Regions from separate parts of the Homo sapiens genome. Here all the other regions are linked to region 3. The links are contacts of gene promoters, found by promoter capture Hi-C in blood cells and fetal thymus (Javierre and others, 2016). All regions are on one chromosome and are shown on one strand. Each heading gives the region's core, a stretch centred on a gene start or on the middle of the fragment in contact. The rest is flanking DNA. Distances are from core to core; before and after follow the strand shown. Region 1 holds the start of PTPN9 (protein tyrosine phosphatase non-receptor type 9). Region 2 overlaps PTPN9 (protein tyrosine phosphatase non-receptor type 9). Region 3 holds the start of MAN2C1 (mannosidase alpha class 2C member 1). Region 4 overlaps SNUPN (snurportin 1).

Region 1 (2,709 bases), core at 97-2,596, 210 kb after region 3:
CCAAAATGAGACAGCAAACCACTTCCTTCTGAAAACTAAAGGTCATAGGCTTTTAAGGAACAATAGAGCTCAATGTAAGCTTCAGAAAGATGGAGACAGTCAGATGAGACGAGGGTAGGGAAGCGCGGGTGAGGAGATGCGCCCCGTCTGGGATAGCTGAATAGGGGGGTCAAGGCCAGGGACTTTAGGAACACGAGAAGGGCTGGATCTTCCATAACCTGCCCAAGTGGGCCTGAGAAACCTAAGAGGCTCCTCTGAAAATCTAGGGCATCTATGCATCCAATACTCTCAGCCCTCTCCTCGGGAAGGGAGATAATCCCCACAGGAAGCACCCCCCAAACTGGGGCTTTTCCTGCCCTTCAAAAGCCACAAACCCTCACGGAAAACATTTACAAGGGAGTGGAAGGGCCGGGGGCAAGCAGCGGTTCTGCAAATCTCGGGAAGAAGGCCCCTGGATCCAAGGAACTTTGCCCCTGGAATAGGGGGTGGGGTGCGGAGGGCACCGTCTGAGGCTGGTAAGCCTCGGCGAAAGAAGCGGCGGGAACGGGAGTAGGGTCCCGTGGGTCCCCCGACGAGGGGGTGGCGGCCTGGGGCGCGGTCGCCGGTGAGGGAGGCCCGCGAGCCGGGCACGGGAGCGGGGGGCTGCGGCCCCGTGGCTGCAAAGAGCCGGCACTCGGGAGGCAGAGGCCGGCGTAGGCCTCGGGGGCCCGGACACACCCAACGCGGCGGCCTCGGGCCCGCTTACCTGCTCCTCCTCCGGGGTCAGCTCCGGCGCCATGTCGGGCCGGGGCGCGGTCGCGGGCTCCATCCCCCCGCCACCGCCGCCGGGCGGACAAAACTCGCTCGCGAGCGCGGGAGCCCGGCGCGCTCGGCCTCCGCTTCCGCGTCCCCGCGCCTCAGCAGCCCGGGGCCGGCTCGCGCATAGTGTGGCCGGCAGGGCCCGGCGCCTGCAGCGGCCGCAAACGCCGCTTCTGCTTCCTTAAGAAAAATCTCTCCGAACTGCCGCTCTCTTCCGGGAGGAAATCCTTTTTTATATTATTCGCTCCGTTCCTCACACTCCCCCTTATCTCCTGGGGAAGAAAAAGTGCAGGCGAAGAGCTAACAGCCACTCGGGATTTAAAAGGAAATAGGAAATCAGGAACTTTTAGAGCCGGGAGCGAAGGGTCGGCGGAAATTTCCCGAAGGCCGCCGACCCCCTCGGCGCCCCGCTTCCTCGGCCGCGCTCCCGCTCCTCCACAGCGCCACAGAGCTCGGGGCCGCCCAGCCGGGCCGTCCTCGCGGACGCTGGCCCTGCGACCTGCGCGGCTGCCTCAGCCAGGCTCCTCGCGGGCGGCCGCAGCGAAAGGGAGGGAGTGGAGAGGGAGCGAGGGAAACGCGCCCCCCTCCTGACTCACGGCCAACGCTGCGGCCGCCCCGCGGCCGCCCGAGCCCCCCGCGGCTCCATTGAGAAACTGAGCGTCTCATTCACAAGCTGGCGGCGAGGAGGGCCCGGCGGAGCGAGGACGCAGTCCGGGAGGGGGAGACAGAGAGGAGCCCGGGCGGGGGAGGGGACCGGGAGGGGGAGGGGACCCGGGCGGGGAGGGGACCCTAGCTGGACGGAAGGCAACTCGACTGCGGGAGGGAGAAAAAGGAAGAAAAGAGTATTTCGTGAGGCTCAGATCCTCGGAGGAGGAGGAGAATACGTTCGTTTGCAAATTATCTGCTGACTGGCACCTCTCCTGGGGTTAACTTGCCGCTGCCACCTACGCGTGAGAAACCCACAATCCTCAACTATTTGTCGCTTGCAGCCTGAAAGACCCTGGAAAGGTTGCCTGCCAGGCCAGGATGCTTAGGTGGAAGGAATCGCACCTGCCTCCCTCTCTCTCCCTCCTTACTGGCTGCACCCTGTAATTCATCTCCAGTGTCGCTAATTTTAATCCCCCATAGAAACGACATCAGACTCCGAACATCATTCAGGAATGACGCGGCCTTTGCAGACCTTTGATTTTCACTAGGGCAAGTGCAGCAAAGGGTTCAGGATTAGGGGTACAGTCTTGGAGTCATTTGGGGAGGAATGGGGCATAGAGAAGGCAAGGCTGGGTCTGGTACGTTGTTGCATTATTCCAAGCCAAAGATAAATATTCCAAAGGGACCCAAAGTCCACAACTAGTTCCAAGGCTGAAGCCCTGGAGCCAGTCCTGAGGGACCCAAAGGAGGGGCCTTCAGACAACAGGAAGGTGCTGTGAGTTGTGATGCTCCTATGATTTTTTTTTTATTTTTTTTTTTGAGACGGAGTCTCTGTGTCGCCCAGGCTGGAGTGCAGTGGCGCGATCTCGGCTCACTGCAACCTCCACCTCCCGGGGTCAAGCGATTCTCCTGCCTCAGCCTCCTGGGTAGCTGGGATTACAGGTGCGAGCCACCACGCCCGGCTAATTTTTGTATTTTTAGTAGAGACGGGGTTTCACCATGTTGGTCAGGCTGGTCTCGAACTCCTGACCTTGTGATCCGCCCGCCTCGGTCTTCCAAAGTGCTGGGATTACAGGCAGGCGTGAGCCACCGCGCGCCTGGCTTTTTTGTTTTTCTTTTTTTGAGACGGAGTCTCACTCTGTCACCCAGGCTGGAGTGCAGTGGCGCGATCTCGGCTCACTGCAAGCTCCCCCTCCCAGGTTCACGCCATTCTCCTGCCTCAGGCTCCCAAGTAGCTGGGACTACAGGCACCCGCCACCGCGC
Region 2 (2,794 bases), core at 74-2,573, 140 kb after region 3:
AGACTCCGTCTCAAAAAAGGTGGCTCACGCTTGTAATCCCAGCACTTTGGGAGGCTGAGGTGGGCGGATCATGAGGTCAGGAGTTCGAGACCAGCCTGGCCAATATGGTGAAACACCGTCTCTACTAAAAATACAAAAATTAGCTGGGTGTGGTAGCGTGCGCCTGTACTCCCAGCTACTCAGGAGGCTGAGGCAGAAGAATCGCTTGAACTCAGGAGGCGGGGCTGCAGTGAGCCAAGATCGTGCCACTGCACTCCAGCCTAGGCAACAGAGTGAGACACTCTCAAAAAAAAAAAAAAAAAAAAAAAAAGAAAAGCTCTCTCCTACTCTGCGTCATTAGGTCTCTAAGCAGCTTCCACAGAACCAAATGTTTTCACTTTCATGTCCTGTCTTTTAATTGCTGCAATCAGTAACTGAGACCATAAATCTTTTAATCATGGAACACGCAGGAGATTATAACAGAATTAAAGTTTCTGGTTTTATTGTGGCGGCGGGGTCTCACTGTGTTGCCTAGGCTGGTCTCAAACTCCTGGCCTCAAGCGATCTTCCCGCCTTGGCCTCGGACTCCCAAAGTGTTAGTATTATAAGCATGAGCCATTACACTTGGCCCAGAATTAAAGTAATTTTGAACGCTTTTGAAATTGGGAAGCAACAAGGTATTCTGAGAAAAAAAAATGCCAGGAATAAATGTAGAAAGAGACATAACGAAAAACTTTCCTCCACAACCCTGGTGGTCAAGGGATTGAATGATGTTTCCAGTTGAACAAATTCTAATGCCAGTTCAACTAATGCAGTTATATTACAAGCTGTTAAATATTAAAGGCCTATGCAGCACTAGGATAAATTTTGGAAGTAGCAGCTATCCCTAAGTTACCTCCAGGACACGTTCCTTCAGTACTATCTTATGCAAGGTGCTATAGAAAGTGAGAACCAGATAAACTGTGTTTAGTTTTGAACTTCAAGAAGCTCGTAGGACAGTAAGAGAGGCAGTCTGTATTGAACTGACTAATGCATCAGGTAGAGAATATAAGTGAATGCACTAACAGAAGCAGAACAGGCTCTAGAAGACACGCCAGGAGGATTTTTTGAAGGTAGAAAATTAATTGGCAGGAATTCACTGTATCTATTCACCTCCAGATAAAAAAGGGCAAGCTTGCCTTACCCTCTCCCGGACTTTGTCCTTCAGGAGGAGACTGATGATGGAATAGGGCACTCGGAACCATATGGGTGCCCCCACAATCAGCACCTTCTTCAAACGAGCTGGAAATGCTCCCTGTGGAGAAAACACATGAGGATTTAAGTGTAATGGAACCTGTGACTCTTCAAGCCCAAGTTTAGGTTTTCTGCTCTTCTCCCCATTCTTACCCAGCAGGGGGAGTCTACAGCCTAATTCAGGTTTGATCTCAGCAGCTAGAGGAAAAGTGGTTAAACAAACTGAAGAAATTAGAAGCTGATTTACCTTTAAAAATAACAATGTTAAGTTCTTGTCTACCGTAAGCTTTATGGATCAAAAACTATTCTGACTTCTCATCTCAACAGATATCCTACACATACCACACATCAGCATACATATATGCCTCTTAAAAAAGTTATGTTATTAAAACTTGAAGGAAAAATGAGATCATGAATAAACTGAACATTAAACATTTCTCGACCAGGTGCGGTGGCTCATGCCTATAATCCCAGCATTATGGGAGGCCGAGGTGGGTGGATCACCAGAGGTTGGGAGTTCAAGACCAGCCTGGCCAACATGGTAAAACCCATCACTACTAAAAATACAAAATTAGCCAGGCACGGTGGCAGACACCTGTAATCCCAACTACTCAGAAGGCTGAGGTAGGAGAATCACTTGAACCCAGGAAGCAGAGGCTGCAGTGAGTTGAGATCAAGCCATTGCACTTTACCCTGGGCAACAAGAGTGAAACTCTGTCTCAAAAAAAATAATATGGCTGGGCACAGTGGCTCACGCCTGTAATCCCAGCACTTCTGGAAGCTGAGGCGGGCAGATCACTTGATGTCAGGAGTTTGAGACCAGCCTGGCCAACATGGTGAAACCCCATCTCTACTAAAAATACAAAGATTAGCCGGGCATGGTGGCATGTGCCTGTAATCCCTGCTACTCGGGAGGCTAAGGCAGGAGAATCGCTTGAACCCAGGAAGTGGAGGTTGCAGTAAGCCAAGATCGCACCACTGCACTCCAGCCTGGGCGACAAGAGCGAAACTCCATCTCAAAATTTTAACAATAATAAATAAAAATTTAAAAATTTTAAAAATTTCTCTTTCATAACTTTTCATTCAGTCTGATGTATGCATAATCTTTTTTTAATCTATTCATTCATCTATGTATTTACCAATCAATAATCTAATGTGCACTATGGCAAATGAGATCTAAAAAAAGGAGATATCCTCATCCACACAAGATATAAAGATGAAAAAATCATTCATTCCTAATCCACAGTGCTTAGTTTTTTTGTTTGCTTGGCTGCTCTGTTTTTGTTTTGTATTGTTTTTGAGACAGGATCTTGCTGTTGCCCAGGCTGGAGTGCAGTGGCACAATCGCCACTCACTGAGTCCTGTACCTCCCAGGCTCAAATGATCCTCCCACCTCAGGCTCCCAAGTAACTGGGACTGCGCCACTACACTTGGCTAATTTTTGTATTTTTAGTAGAGACAGGGTTTCACCATGTTGGCCGGCTGGTTTCGAACTCCTGATCTCAAGTGATCCTCCTACCTTGGCATCCCAGAGTGCTGGGATTATAGGCATTGAGCCACTGCTCCTGGCGTGAAGTTCTTA
Region 3 (2,700 bases), core at 101-2,600:
GTGATAAGGAGAGATCCATTACTTTATCTAGAACTGTTTGAAATGTTTTCCTATAAGTTTGTATTATACACAATAAAAACTAAGGACCAATTGCACAGATGCCCAAGTGGCAACTTCCCTAGTCCTGAAATCCTGATACCACCCTGTGGGCAGAGCAACTCAGCTGTGGCTTCTCCAGAGTCCACAGAAGAAGGGCTGTAGTCATTTCAGGGCTGAAATGTGGCCATACCTGGCCCTAGGACAGGGTTCCTCACCTGGACAGGTTCTCCATCACGCCACACCAGACCTTCTCCATCACTTTCCCAGCAAAGGTGAACTTCCTGGCCCACCCATGCCTCTGGGATGGTCAGCTCCACCCGGAACCAGCAGGTCCACCATCTGCAAGAGAGCTGTTGTGATAGGCCTAGAGGTAGAAGTCCTATCCTGATATCCTTCCTTGGATAAAGTGTCGGCAGGGGCTTGAAACTCTCCAAGCATCTGCAGTGTCACAAGGTACTCAGCTTTGAGTCACAAGAAAGGAGCAACAAGGTGAGAAGCAAGATGAGGGAAACAGGCAGAGGCGTCAAAGGTTCGTGATCCCTAGGGTGCCCTTCCTAAGGGATGTCCAGAGGCGGCCACGTGGGAATGAAAACCATCCCCTGAAGACCCAGGGACCAGAGAGCTGTTCCCAGCAGAGGGTGCTGCTCCCAGCAGAGGGTGCTGCTCGATCCCACGTAGTTGTCTACGGCAGAGGGCAGACAACGAAGGTGTGGCTGGGAGCTGGGTTGGGACTTCCCCTAGGCCTGTGGCCCCGCCCACCCGCTGGGCGTTACCTACGTGGGTCCGAAGCTGTCGCCGACCTGCGCGGGGCGGAAGTCCCGCTGGACTGCCTCCTGGTAGGGAAGTCTCTCCGGCGTCAGGAAGCTGGAGAGCACAGCCACAGGGCAGCTGGCCCCAAAAAGCCTGCGTGGGACGGGCCGGTGGGCACATGCTGGAGGCCGCCCCGTTTCCGCCTGGGGGCCAGCTGGCCGGTGGGGCCGCACTTTCCCTGGATCCTCCGCCAAGAGGGCTGCCTGGCCGCTCCGCGGCACAGTCCATTCCCTACCCCCTCCTCCCCGGCCCCTGCCCTGCCCGCGGCGGGCACTTTGTCCCGCGGCCCGGGTGGCTGCAGCTTAGGTTTCTCCCCGGAAGGAAAGCTTGAGGCGCACGGTTGCGGTCGGCCGGCTGCGGGGGACCAGGGGCCACACCTGCCGCGGAGGTTACAGTCGGTAAAGTAGAGCGGCGACACGAACTTCTCCACCCGCTCCAGCGTGGTGCGCCAGTGCTTCAAGGCCGGCGCAGCCGCCATCGCCGGGCTCTCGCTCCTCTTTCCGGAAGGCCCCTGGCGCTACCGTTCCGCTCCACGGCAGGAAACCAAAGGTTCCGGCGTCCAGAGGGCGCCTCCCAGTCCCGGGCAGCTTTTCTTGGAACACCGGCGGCTCTCGGAAGCCCAGCTGCTGTCTGAACTTTGAGCCGAGTTGGAAGCTAGAAACTGTTTTTGAGGCTCTCCTATGTTGTCCGAAATAGTGGGCCGCAGGGAAAATCTCAAAATAAAATGGGAAATTTGACGATTAGAACTCTCGAAAGTCTCAAGACAGAGACTTAGGCCATTCGGCAAGACAGGCGGGAGCCTCAGCTGCTGCAGACCCAGCCTCAGAAGCAGCAACCGGGAGACCTCTGGCTCTAGCTGTCGGTGAACACGGAAAGTGGTGTTTGCTTAACGTGGAGCCAGACTACCCGGAATAGGTGTTTTCATACCGGACGGAGATCAGGGTGTTAGTGAGCAGGGTGGTAGAGCTTTACGCCCAAGTTACTACGACTTACTCGATTACACGCTTTACTGAATGTATATTGCTAACTCTTGCACATCACCAGAAACTCTGGAGTTTGAGGTGGCAGAACAGTCATGGCATTGACGATCCCAATGGAAAAATGTATTTCACCATACAGGACTGTAGAGTCCCGGGAAGCCATAATACCAGAAACAGACCTCCAGTTTCATTCTCATCCCTAGTACTCCACTGACAGCTTTATTTTTTTTCTCCTGGGGTTGCCAAGAGTCTTTGTCTATAAAATCATTAGGAACAAAAAAAAATACACAAGATTAGCCCTGATATTTTAATGGAAATACTGACCAAGTTTACAACATTTCAAATGCAGATCACACGGAAAGGTGACTAAGTACAGAATAACAAATGTGATTTAAAACAAAGATAACCTGCTGCTGCATATAATACAGGTTGGGTTTAGAGCTTGGAGCTCAGATGTCAGACAGCAGGAGGAATAAAAATGCTACTTGTGAAAACCCAGGCTGTAGGTAAAACTTACTCTTTTGTTGGTTGCACTGGTGGGTTGGGACTTTCTCCTGAACTGGCCTTGAAATCCTATCCTGACCTGCAGGCAAGTGCTCTGGACAAAACACTGCAGGGGCAGCAACAGCTGGGGCTGACCCTGATCACACCCCACCAATTTCCCCTATGGTTCCAGGTCAACATGACCTTTCTTGAGGGAACACGGGGATAGGTGAATTATTTGAGAAAACCTCAAGATCTTTCCCCTAAATCAGTACACATGACCACCGCCAAGTCAGACACTGCCCCAGCTTTGCCCTAAAATCTCATCCCACAAAGCTCTTTTTGGCACCCTACACTTTGGCTCACAGTCTCTTCTCCCCAGTACAAA
Region 4 (2,700 bases), core at 92-2,591, 230 kb after region 3:
GGTTTGTTTTTTGTTTTTTTTTTTTGAGACAGAGTCTTGTGCTGTTGCCCAGGCTGGAGTGCAGTGGCTCAATCTCGGCTCACTGCAACCTCTGCCTCCCAAGTTCAAGTGATTCTCCTGCCTCAGCCTCCCGAGTAGCTGGGATTACAGGCATCTGCCAATACGCCCAGCTAATTTTTGTATTTTTAGTAGAAACGAGGTTTTGCCATGTTGGCCAGGCTGGTCTTGAACTCCTGACCTCAAGTGATCCACCGGCCTCGGCCTTCCCAAGTGCTGGGATTATAGGCGTGAGCCACCATGCCCAGCCGCTGTGAGACTTTCAGTGCTAAAACAGGGCGAGTCCTGAGCAAACTGGAATGAGGTGGTCACCTGACTCATGCTCCTGCTCAGCAAGTGCTGCTGTCCCCAAGGGCCATCTTCTTTGGTGAGGAAAGGATTAGGGATTTGGACATTTGTTGGAGTCATTCAGTCACAGAAGCACCTTCACTTTACAAGCAGCCACGACAGCCAAACCAGGGACCTGGGTCTCAGCTTGCAGTAGGAAGAGGCACACAAGAAGGATCTAGGCATGCAAGTCTTGCTCCTATCTGGGCCTCAGTTTCTCCGGACCTCAGTTTCTCCATCTGTAAGATGAGGGAGTTGGACGAGCTGTCCATTAAGGGCCCTTCCAGTGCCAGCATTCTGACTTATCCAGCATGGGTGGAGCTCAGGCTCTGAAGGGCAGCAAGTACATCCTTTCTCCAGAATCAGCTTTGTCCCATTCTGATGCTTTGACACAGCACAATCAAGGAATATTTTAAGACTTTGTGTAACTAAGTCTCTCTGCAGCCTATCATCATGTCAAGGCAATAAAGACAATGGTTTCGTTACCTCAAAAGGGAAATCCATAGATAGCACATCACACAGGCTTTCGGGAGTGCAAGGGAAGTTCTTTAGCCCCACAAATTTAAACTGAAATAGAAATTAGAACAAGGAATTAGTACGTTATAAATGATACTGGCCCAAGCAATTGAAAATCTCTGTCAGGCCAGGCATAGTGGCTCACACCTGTAATCCCAGCACTTTGGGAGGCAAAGTCAGGAGGATCACCTGAGGTCAAGAAATCAAGACAAGCCTGGCCAACATGGTGAAACCCCGTCTGTACTAAAAATACAAAAATTAGCCAGGCATAGTGGCATGTGCCTGTAGTCCAAGCTACTTGGGAGGTTGAGGGAGGAAAATAGCTTGAACCCAGGAAGGGGAGGTTGCAGTGAGCCATGATCATGCCACTGCACTCCAGACTGGGTGACAGAGCAAGACTCCCTCTCAAAAAAAGCAAAAAGAAAAGAAAATCTCTGTCAAAGAAGAAAAACTTGTAGTCCCAGCTACTTGGGAGGCTGCTGAGGTAGAAGGATCGCTTGAGCCTGAGGTCAAGGCTGCAGTAAGCTCAGATTGTGCCACTGCACCCCAGCCTGAGTGACAGAGCCAGACCCTGTCTCAAAAACCAAACCAAACCAAACTAAACCAAGCCAAAACAAAAAAACAAAGAAGAAAAGTTTTCAGTCTCATCCTTCTCTACTAATTCCCCTCTACTTACTCTCTTAACTACTAGGTCGTGGTTCCCAATCTTTCCTCCCCCTTTTTTTTAAGAGATGAGATCTCATTCTGTCACCCATGCTAGAGAGCAGTGGCACAATCACAGCTCACTGCATCCTCAAATTCCTGGGCTCAAGGGATTCTCCCACCTCAGTTTCCCAGTATGCTGGGATTATAGGCATGAGCCACTGTACCCAGCCCCAACCTTCTTTTATCCACAAGAATCATCTAGGGAGCTTTTAAAAATTACTGATACTCAGGAGGCTGAAGCAGGAAAATGACATGAACCCGGGAGGCGGAGCTTGCAGTGGGCCGAGATTGTGCCACTGCACTCCAACCTGGGTGACAGAGCGAGACTCCGTCTCTAAAAATAAAAAATAAATAAAAATAAATTACTGATGCTGGCCAGGTGTGGTGGCTCACGCCTGTAATCCCAGCACTTTGGGAGGCCGAGAAGGGCGGATCACGAGGTCAGGAGTTCGAGACCAGTCTGACCAATATGGCGAAACCCCGTCTCTACTAAAAATACAAAAATTAGCCAGGCATGGTGGTACATGCCAGTAGTCCCAGCTACTTGGGAGGCTGAGGCAGAAGAATCGCTTGAACCTGGGAGGCGGAGGTTGCAGTGAGCTGAGATTGTGCCACTGCACTCTAGCCTGAGCAACAGAGCAAGACTCGGTCTCAAAAAAAAAAAAAAAAATATTACTGATGCACAGGCCCTACTCTGAGATTCTGACTGAACTGGTCTGGGGTGGGATCCAGGTTTTTTGTTGTTTTTTTTGAGACAGAGTTGCGCTCTTTCACCCAGGCTGGAGTGCAGTGGCACAATCACAGCTCACTGCAGCCTCAACCTCTTGGGCTCAAGTGATCCTCCCACCTCAGCCTCTCAAGTAGCTGGAACTATAGGTGCACGCCACCATGCCTAATCTGTTTTTGTATTTTTTTGTAGAGATGGGGTTCTGCTGTGTTGCCCAGGCTGGTCTCAAACTCCTGGGCTCAAACAATCCACCTACCTCAGCCTCCCAAAGTGATGGGATTATAGGCACACATCACCATACCTGGCTAATTTTTTTGTTTGTATTTCTTTTGTAGAGATGGGGTTTTGCCATGTTGCCCAGGCTGCTC

The links. The method cuts DNA at HindIII sites, captures the fragments that hold promoters and counts their contacts. A CHiCAGO score of 5 or more calls a contact.
Region 1: a contact is called between the fragment with the promoter of PTPN9 here and the fragment with the promoter of MAN2C1 in region 3, in 5 of 17 cell types (endothelial precursors, erythroblasts, activated CD4 T cells and 2 more). The highest score is 8.3, in endothelial precursors.
Region 2: a contact is called between a fragment that was not itself captured here and the fragment with the promoter of MAN2C1 in region 3, in 1 of 17 cell types (naive CD4 T cells). The highest score is 5.6, in naive CD4 T cells.
Region 4: a fragment that was not itself captured here is called in contact with the fragment with the promoter of MAN2C1 in region 3 in 8 of 17 cell types (naive CD4 T cells, naive CD8 T cells, activated CD4 T cells and 5 more); the score reaches 8.0 in naive CD4 T cells.

What each region holds. Positions count from the first base shown.
Region 1 is chr15:75,577,969-75,580,677 of GRCh38, forward strand. PTPN9 (protein tyrosine phosphatase non-receptor type 9) reads right to left here and starts at 1,347. Exons shown (of 13, transcript NM_002833.4): 1 at 746-1,347. The coding sequence starts at 808. RefSeq lists silencers at 555-954, 1,215-1,704 and an enhancer at 914-1,512. The HindIII fragment of the contact is 12,332 bases long and covers 78-2,709 here.
Region 2 is chr15:75,507,755-75,510,548 of GRCh38, forward strand. It overlaps PTPN9 (protein tyrosine phosphatase non-receptor type 9), which reads right to left. Exons shown (of 13, transcript NM_002833.4): 6 at 1,163-1,273. Among named protein-coding and RNA genes, the nearest start is that of SIN3A, 57 kb to the left of the region's middle. The HindIII fragment of the contact is 346 bases long and covers 1,151-1,496 here.
Region 3 is chr15:75,367,257-75,369,956 of GRCh38, forward strand. MAN2C1 (mannosidase alpha class 2C member 1) reads right to left here and starts at 1,351. Exons shown (of 26, transcript NM_006715.4): 1 at 1,227-1,351; 2 at 817-942; 3 at 255-378. The coding sequence starts at 1,327. It overlaps SIN3A (SIN3 transcription regulator family member A), which reads right to left. Exons shown (of 21, transcript NM_001145358.2): 21 at 2,123-2,700. RefSeq lists a silencer at 1,018-1,097 and enhancers at 1,124-1,656, 1,228-1,547, 1,232-1,526. The HindIII fragment of the contact is 2,518 bases long and covers 1,174-2,700 here.
Region 4 is chr15:75,600,268-75,602,967 of GRCh38, forward strand. It overlaps SNUPN (snurportin 1), which reads right to left. Exons shown (of 9, transcript NM_005701.4): 8 at 871-951. Among named protein-coding and RNA genes, the nearest start is that of PTPN9, 22 kb to the left of the region's middle. The HindIII fragment of the contact is 7,095 bases long and covers 1-2,700 here.